2 separate regions of the Homo sapiens genome follow, and region 1 is linked to region 2. The links are contacts of gene promoters, found by promoter capture Hi-C in human tissues and cell types (Jung and others, 2019). All regions are on one chromosome and are shown on one strand. Each heading gives the region's core, a stretch centred on a gene start or on the middle of the fragment in contact. The rest is flanking DNA. Distances are from core to core; before and after follow the strand shown.

Region 1 (4,418 bases), core at 839-3,338, 160 kb before region 2:
GTCCTCTTATCACCAGCCAAACCCAGGAATTTGGGGATGGCGCTGTTGTAGGAATTTTTCCTTAGTTCAGCTAAAGACAGGGTCCTTGTCACATGAACACAAAAAATTAGGCTTGCAGACAATTTGAGGAGGGCAGGGTTTTTTTGGTGGAAAGGAAAAAAACTCAGCAAAGAGAGAGAGGTTCCTGTTAACAGGCCCCATCTCAGATTGAATACCCAGGTTGCCACACCGGATGAGGAGAGGCCAGGCTCCCCTCTTGCAAACAGCGTGAACTTCCTGAAGCTCCATGCCAGTGCGCACTCCTCCCAGTGTGCAGACCGGTTGGAGTTTTTCTGGGTCCCTCTCCTATTTGGCTGTCTCATTCCCCCTCTGAAGAAGTACATCTAACTGCCTTTAAAAGAAGGATAAGATCAAAGACCAATCTTAACTGCTTTCTACTGACAAGGGACATTGTTTTGGGGAAAATGGCCATCAGAGCTCCCTCAGAGGCCTATCTAAGGGAGCCTGGCAGAATGGGCCATTGTCCAAGGCTCCAGTTGCATGACCATTTGGAGTTTGATGGACTGAAGGGGAGAAGAGAAAAACTGGATTATTAGAAAATATGTATCAAAATAAAACAAGGCCGGGGCCGGGGGGCGGGTTAAGGACAACTTAAAAATTCTGAGGCCTTTTACCAGTTTGCACAGGGAGCGGGAGGCCAAAAGCCCAACTGGTGAAAAAAACTTTACCCTTTTGCCAGCATGTTGGGCTTCTGGGTTCCCTTCACCTGAGCCCTGTCCTAAGCCAACCAGTTTGAGGTTTGGGAAATTAACTTTCCCCAGTTTGGAGAATGCATTTGAGGGGAGTGTCCCATAGTACAGAGACACAATTACCCATCAATGAGGAGAGGACAGAGGAGGAAAAAGGAAAGAAGAAAGCATTTTTTTCCAAAGGAGTCCCACGGATTCAAGATGCATTTGAAAGGGATACAGACTGAAGATGAATGGCTACCCACCTAGAAAGAGCAGAACAGGTGTCCCTGGTTCCCTTCTTTTCCTAGCAAATACCAGGATACATGAGGGAGAAAAAGAAGAACATCCTCTTTCCCTCCTCCATCCTTGCATCCCCAAGTCCCAGCAACCTTGGCAGGTGCTGCCCATTGGTGCCAAAGCAGCTTACACTCATGAAGAAGGGAAGGCCTAGAGAATAGGAATTATCTGCTTTTATCTATGTCTCTTTTTCCCCTACATCAGCAGCCTTGGAATTCACTAGACCCCATTTATACCATGGATACTAGCATGATCCTTATCCATGAAATGGAAGGCTTGGCTTAATCGGCAGGAATTAGCCATGCTCACCTGCACTGTGTCTGATAGGACTGAGTTGTTTGCAAAAATAGACTTTAGTTTTATATATGGCCTGATTATTTGCATAAATTGCAGCAAGAATAACTATTTCTACATAGACCTTTTAGATTGGCTTTGATGGAATTCTGTTCCACAAGGAATCTCAGATGATATCTTTTAAAGCCAAGCCCAACCATGGTTTTATATCCACAAATAACTGTGAGTTGGGTGATCCATTCCTCTTAAGGTCCCAAGATAAACTTGGAGATCCTTGGCCAGTTAGAAAGTGACATTCTTTACTGATCACAGGTCAGGAACCCTGTACAGGGACTGCGTAGACAAGGGTATGAGGACAGTTTTTCCTGCGGGGTTTTATCAGCTCTGCAAGTCAAGCTTGACTCCTCAAAGAGAAGCATACCCTTATAATCAAACCCTTGGTAAAACAACTGGTTTCTCCACTTGCATCCTGTTGCAAAAGAAAAATGGATTCTTACTGCACTGATGCAAACAACTATATTGCCATAAGTTAAGAATACTCACAGATAGTTTCCAAATTCTAGAGGAACCAGGCAGAGAGAGAGAGAGACAAATAGGCTCCAAATTTTGTTCACAGGAGTATAGCTTACTCAGTTATTAAAGGCTGTAAATACTTCAAAATAAGTTTTCTTAACCCTGAAAAACAAAACGGGGATCAGCAATATTCCAACAAAAGTTAAAAAGATTGTTTCAGTTTTGAGTTCAGTCCATTAGTTCTAGTTTTGCTTGATATTCATGAACACTTCAGCTCTTCATGAGTCATGTACATTTTTCCTTTATTCCAATGTTACAATCTCCAAAGTTATCAGAAACCTGTATTTGAGAGGACCTGTCAAAGTTCTATAGCTCAGTATAAACCATCTTTTGAAAAGCATTAAAACAAGACAACCATTGTCTGTGAATAACAAAATGTCCAGGGTAGTTACAGTTAGAAACACAATTGACAAAGAAGTTTGGTTATCTCTGTGATTTACAATAACCTAACATACCAACCTTAATTATGATTGATAGCATATACTCAGACATTAGAATTGTAGAAATCCCATATAATTTTGAGCATATGCTAGCATTACTCACAAAAATATTACCTAAAGTATATTGAACATCATTTTGGCAGTCCCATGTACCTAAACATGTTTACCTCTCTTTTCTGGACACTCCAGGGGCCCTCTGAAGTATCTGAAAAGCCAGGAGTCAGGAAAGACAATTTCGGAACCAAAGTTTGATTTTTGGGAAGCCTGTTAAATTTGTTAGAGGTTTAAAACACTTGATGTTATAAAACAGTATTCCAGGTCACCATAAATTATTTATTTTGCCAAAATGATGACTCAGAAATTTTAAAGAGGCAAAAGCCTTTTATAAACCTTTACAAATTTTGCTAAAGAGCAGATTAGCACCTTAAGAATACCTTGTTGTGCTTTTATTTCAATGCTCAATTTACAGAATAACTTTTTTGAATTTAGTCAATATGTTCACACAGAGAAACTATTCTGTAAGATTAATGTCCACAATCCTTCCACCACTTGTTTTAACCTTTAGCTTTATCTTGTCTAATTCAAAACAATCCTTTACTCCTAGGCAAAAATTTACAATTTCGTGCCTTTTTATAATCTTTTACTAAAAACACATTTTACTGTTTTCACACACTTTGCATGTAAATCTATTTCCAATAGTTTCAATTATATGTTATAATGGTAACTCCTAGCAGTTTTTAACTTTAATGTAAAACCTGGTAAGTTGTTTTAATTGTGTGCTAGGTGCAGCCAAGGTTTGACTTCTTCCAGCGTAATTAAGGGTGTGGTTAGTTTCATATGTCCCCTGGCATTACCAATTGTGAAGCTGACAAATTGAAACATTCTCAAAAACCAAAAAGGCAGTTTATAACCTTAAAACATTTAGCAACTCTAGTATCTAACCTGCATAATTTAGTCCACCTATTTATATTTTGATGACATCTGCATTTTACCAATAACCTTTACGACTGCCTTATTTCTCAAAGATTAAAGTCGCTTGAACTGAAAGTTACCACAGCTTTTATCTTCCCTTAAAAAAATACTTGATTCAAGTGCTTGTCTTCCTTTAGGCCAAATTAATTAGAGCTCTTTTTACAGACATCATATACATAACACATATATAGCTACACAGACAGGCAGAAGAAAACCCAGTCGCTGGGTGGAGCCCTTTAAGAGACAGGGCTAGGAAAATGTGCAGATATCAAACCAGAAAGGACTCATTCCCTAGGCAGGATTGCTAAACAAAGCCTTGCCATGTGGTTACAGGCCACACCCTCAGGACATATGCCCTCAGGACATAAAACAAGATGGAGGTGTGCAGCAAAGTTTGCTACTGACCACACAGACATGCAAAGCATACCACATTGGCTACAGCTTAAGACCAACCTCACAAATCCTTTTTCACAATTAAAACTTTACAGAGAATATAAACATAATTAGTCCACATAAATAGGTGGACTAAATTATGATAATGATCCTTATCATTCCTAGCCTAAGAAAATGTCTTCTAAAAGGAAAAATAAACTCATTTAAAAGTTAACTGCTGATGGAGTGGAGAAGAAAAAGGGATGCCTGGGGGAAAAACCTCTTATTCTTATGCAAATAGTTCCTCCACCCTAGAGAGAAGCTTAATTGCTGTCTGATGGGGTTGGACTCCCTGGCTGGGGGAGGGGGAGACTCCATGGGTGCCTGGCAGGGAATACCGCCAGCTGCATGGGATCCCTTGGGGCTCAGGCAGCTGCTGTGGCTCATTCCCACCCTTGGCTCATTCCATTGTTAATGGCTGTTGGACACTGTGCATACATGCGGCAGACTCAGCCATGCACCCCAGACAGTAGAGAATGGGGAGCAGGGAGCTGCCCCACCCAACTGTCCCATACACATGCCTGTGGCCATTGGGGTGTGTGTGAACCACCTCCAGTATTGTAAAAAAAAAAAAAGTTTTCATGTCATTAATGTCCTGAAAAAAAGAAGAGGAATGCCATAGGACCAAAAGGCTCAGAAGCGAATGTGAGAGGTTTTGAGTCCCCATTTCACTCACCCC
Region 2 (4,109 bases), core at 284-2,783:
TTCCGCGATTGATTCGATTTCACACTTCCACCGAGACTCTCAGTCACTAGCTAGCGTTTGTTTCCCGTTCCACCAAGCCGGGAGAGGGGCGGTGTCCGGGTTCTTCTAGAGACCACTCCTGGGGCTCTCTCCCTTCCCGGGATTTCTGCCTTCCCGCCCCTCGTGCTGCTGAGCTAAAGTCTTGATCACAAAAACACAGCAAGGGGGAAGAAAGATCTACGCCCACCTCCGCACTCGCACCGAAGGCTCCAAACTCCGACCTCCTCTTTATTCCCAGAAACGACTCTGCGCTGAACCGCAGTGCCCGGGCACGCACAAGGGGCTTTCTAGGTCCTTTCGTTGTTTCCCTTCCCCCGTGCTTCTTTGCCCACGCACCCCACCCCCCCGCCCCACCACCCCGACATCAGATAGTTTATTATGAGCTTCTGATTTCCCTGTCCGACGCCGTACGGCGGCCCCAGCCTGGTGGACCCACCCGCGCAGGCCGGGGTGCCGCTGAGTTCCCGGAGCTCGGGGCACGTCAGCACAGCGGCCAGAGGAGGCCCGGCGGAGCTTCGGGCGCGGACCGTCCCACCGTTTTGCGCCAGCGCCAAGGTCCAGGAAGCCTGGAGTGGGAACAATCTCTCTGGAGCTCTCAGGAACCTAACAATCTCTCTCTCTGCCTCCTTGGCTCCTTTTCCTTCCCATCCTCCCAAGTTGCTTTTCTTGTGACATTAACATTTTTTTTTCGCAGTTTTTGGTCTAGGAAGTTAAAGAATTGTGCAAAACTGAAATTCTTTTAGAAATCCATGTTTTAAAACGAAAGAGAGGACACAGAAAATAAGAGACCTCTCCGCCACAATACTGCCAGGAGCAAAGCCATCACCGAACATGGACATCCCGTTGAAACCACACCAGAAGGGCCCAATAAACAAAATTGACAGAATGGAAGTGTTTAGGAAAAGAGATCTAATGAAAAAAAAATATTGAGACAGAGAAAGTCGGCATGCAGTCTTCCCACCACCCCCAGCCCCCGCTGGCAGCACCTTCCCTCCGACCGCACCTCTGTCCCTCAAACCTTTCCACTGAGACCTATTTTTGCCCATATTTCTCTAAACTTGGGAGCAGCCAGGAAAGAAAGGAGAGCGAATGTTTCAATTCCTCTCTCCAAACTCAGAGGAACCTCCACCAACCGCCTGGCCACCTTCTCTTGCCTTCCTTCCGTTCCTGATGTGTGATTTGGTTAGAGAAATTGGGAAGGGGGGTGGGGTGGAAGAAAGTTAAAAAAAAAATCAGGAAGGCGTAAGCTGGAGCGGTGAGTGTGTCAATCAGAGGGTTTTGTGCCTGGGGGCTCCTAGCGGTTCGGAGCAGAGGTGTCCCAGGGCGGCCCCACAATGAATATGAATAGGAATCCTTGCTAAATGGGACAGCAAAGCGCACCGCCCTGAATGATGGCACGTCATCCTAACCAGCCCAGGATAGATAGGAGGGCTCCTTTTGTCTCTTTTCTCCGCCGCAGCTCTATAAAAGCCCCTCTTTTTCAGCGTGAGGTTAGTTCAAGCACACACCAACTAGCTGTCCAGGAAGCAGCCTAACCAGAGAGAGGGGCGTGGGAGGGAGAGAGGCGGGGAAAAGCAGCGTCTCCGCTTTTCTTCTCACGTCTTGCCGCGGAGAAGTGGGTTCCTGGGCAGTGCAGATTTTTTTTTTTTAATTCAAGATTTTCTTTAATTTCCCGCCTAAAGCCTCCCCACGGTAGGGCCGCATCCCCTGTAATAAAATGAATTCTGATTCGAGCTCTGTCTCCAGCAGAGCTTCATCTCCGGACATGGATGAGATGTACCTGAGGGACCACCACCACCGCCACCACCACCACCAGGAGAGCCGTCTCAACTCGGTCTCGTCCACGCAGGGCGATATGATGCAGAAGATGCCCGGGGAAAGCCTCTCGCGGGCTGGCGCCAAGGCCGCGGGAGAGAGCAGCAAGTACAAAATCAAGAAGCAGCTGTCGGAGCAGGACCTACAGCAGTTGAGGCTGAAGATCAACGGACGCGAACGCAAGCGGATGCACGACCTGAACCTAGCCATGGACGGGCTGCGCGAAGTCATGCCCTACGCGCATGGGCCGTCGGTGCGCAAGCTCTCCAAGATCGCCACACTCCTGCTCGCCAGAAACTACATCCTCATGCTCACCAGCTCCCTGGAGGAGATGAAGAGGCTGGTTGGCGAGATCTATGGGGGCCACCACTCGGCCTTTCACTGCGGGACCGTGGGCCACTCGGCCGGCCACCCCGCGCACGCGGCCAACTCCGTGCACCCGGTGCACCCCATCTTGGGCGGCGCGCTCTCATCTGGCAACGCCTCGTCACCGCTGTCCGCCGCCTCACTTCCCGCCATCGGCACCATCCGGCCTCCCCACTCGCTACTCAAGGCGCCCTCCACGCCGCCCGCGCTGCAGCTGGGCAGCGGCTTCCAGCACTGGGCTGGTCTGCCCTGCCCCTGCACCATCTGCCAGATGCCGCCGCCGCCGCACCTGTCCGCTCTCTCCACAGCCAACATGGCCCGGCTGTCGGCCGAGTCCAAGGACTTGCTCAAGTGAGCAGCGGGCGGGCCCGGCTGCCAAGGAGGAGGGAGAGCGGCGGGAGGGGCCGCGGTGCCGGGCCGGGAGGGAAGAGGGAGGCTGCACGCTCGGCCCACGGGAGGGCAGGCTCCGGGGCCCGCAGCCTCCCACGCTGTCTGAGAGATCTCAGACTCCACTTGACCCCCGGAGGGAAAGGACCAAAATCAAACCGCAATTTCTAGGTGGTAGCAAAGGGGGACTCGAACCAGATGTCGTGTGTTTTGCATGCATGCTTCTTTTCCCCATGCCGCGCCAGTATTTTTCACTGCCATATGCTCTTGTCAAAACTGCATTTGTTGTATAAAGATGGGATCGGTGTAGTTAAAAACTTGCGAAGGGACTTTTGAGTTGGCTTTCTCTGACTCTGTGTTCTCGCTTTGGAAAAAGACGGCCATCCCTTTTGTGCAAAACAAATGTAAATATTTTCTTGAGATGGATGCGATTATGATTGTCTCTGTCCTTGCCACAGTTTTTCTAGAGACAATGGAGAGAGAAAGAGAGAGAGAGCGCGAGAGAGATCAAGACCCAAGTTTTGAATCTCAACCGAGGTCCAGGGCATGACACCTCCTATGTGGGTTTTCCTTTCGACGCAGTGTAGGTCAAAAGAATGCATGCACGCTTCTAAATGAATCTTGTCTGAATATGTCGTGCAGGCTGTGGTGCCGTTTTCCTTGTAACAAGGATTTATTAGTGAATTATCCCAAGTACTCCATATATCTGTCTGTGGTTGTATGAAATGAAAAAAGGGGCAGAGTGCAAAGACCCACACTCACGCACACGCGCTTCTTCTCCCACCCCCACCCCCTTCAAACTTTATTCGGAACCTTCCTTTGCTGTTCTGGGGCCGCTATTGTAAAAGCCTGGGCTCCCTCTAGTAGCTTGCGCCACCCCCCCTCGCTCAGTTATTCTGCATGCGGGGTTGGCTCTCTCTATTATCAGCTTTGAAAACTTATCCTGGTTTTGGGAGGGGTGCCGTTTTTATTTTCCTGAACATTTGCTTGAAATATTTTGTTAGGGCCTCAAAGACGATACCTGTCTTTATTTTTTATATATTCTTGATAACTATGATATATTTATTAATAACCAGTGTTTCTGGATGAGATTTCAAATAAAAAAGAACCTTTAAATCGTGGCTTTGCCTTTGCCTAAAATCTTAGCAGATGGGGGTAGTGGGATAGGAAACACGTGGACCAGGTAAGGTGTATCTGGGTGAGGAATTTGGATGGGTGGGCAGATGTGAAGGTTTTCCGTGATTACGTACAAGTAAACAGGATGGGTAAATTGGTGCTGATTTTTGGAACTAAATGTCCTTCAAGCGGGCATTGCCCACATTCATAGTATTATGCTATTTGAGCTCATTTCTCTGCAGTAATCAGACCCTCATAAACTCGAGAATTGAATTTTAAAAAGTAATCTGGAAACTTAAAGTGGCAGGAAATGAGAGGTGGAGTGTCACTACGATGACTGTGTTGGCAACAAACAAGGATGAAGCAGTACGTTAACTTCTTTTCAC

What was found. Contacts are between HindIII fragments. The study calls those that stand out against the background at their distance.
Region 1: a fragment that was not itself captured here is called in contact with the fragment with the promoter of OLIG3 in region 2 in 1 of the 25 tissues and cell types used here (neural progenitor cells).

What each region holds. Positions count from the first base shown.
Region 1 is chr6:137,652,765-137,657,182 of GRCh38, reverse strand. No RefSeq gene overlaps it. Among named protein-coding and RNA genes, the nearest start is that of LINC03004, 11 kb to the left of the region's middle. RefSeq lists an enhancer at 3,722-4,238. The HindIII fragment of the contact is 7,145 bases long and covers 1-4,418 here.
Region 2 is chr6:137,491,818-137,495,926 of GRCh38, reverse strand. It overlaps OLIG3 (oligodendrocyte transcription factor 3), which reads left to right and starts at 1,533. Exons shown (of 1, transcript NM_175747.2): 1 at 1,533-3,728. The coding sequence starts at 1,757. The coding sequence ends at 2,575. RefSeq lists enhancers at 1-442, 2,124-2,623. The HindIII fragment of the contact is 10,277 bases long and covers 1-4,109 here.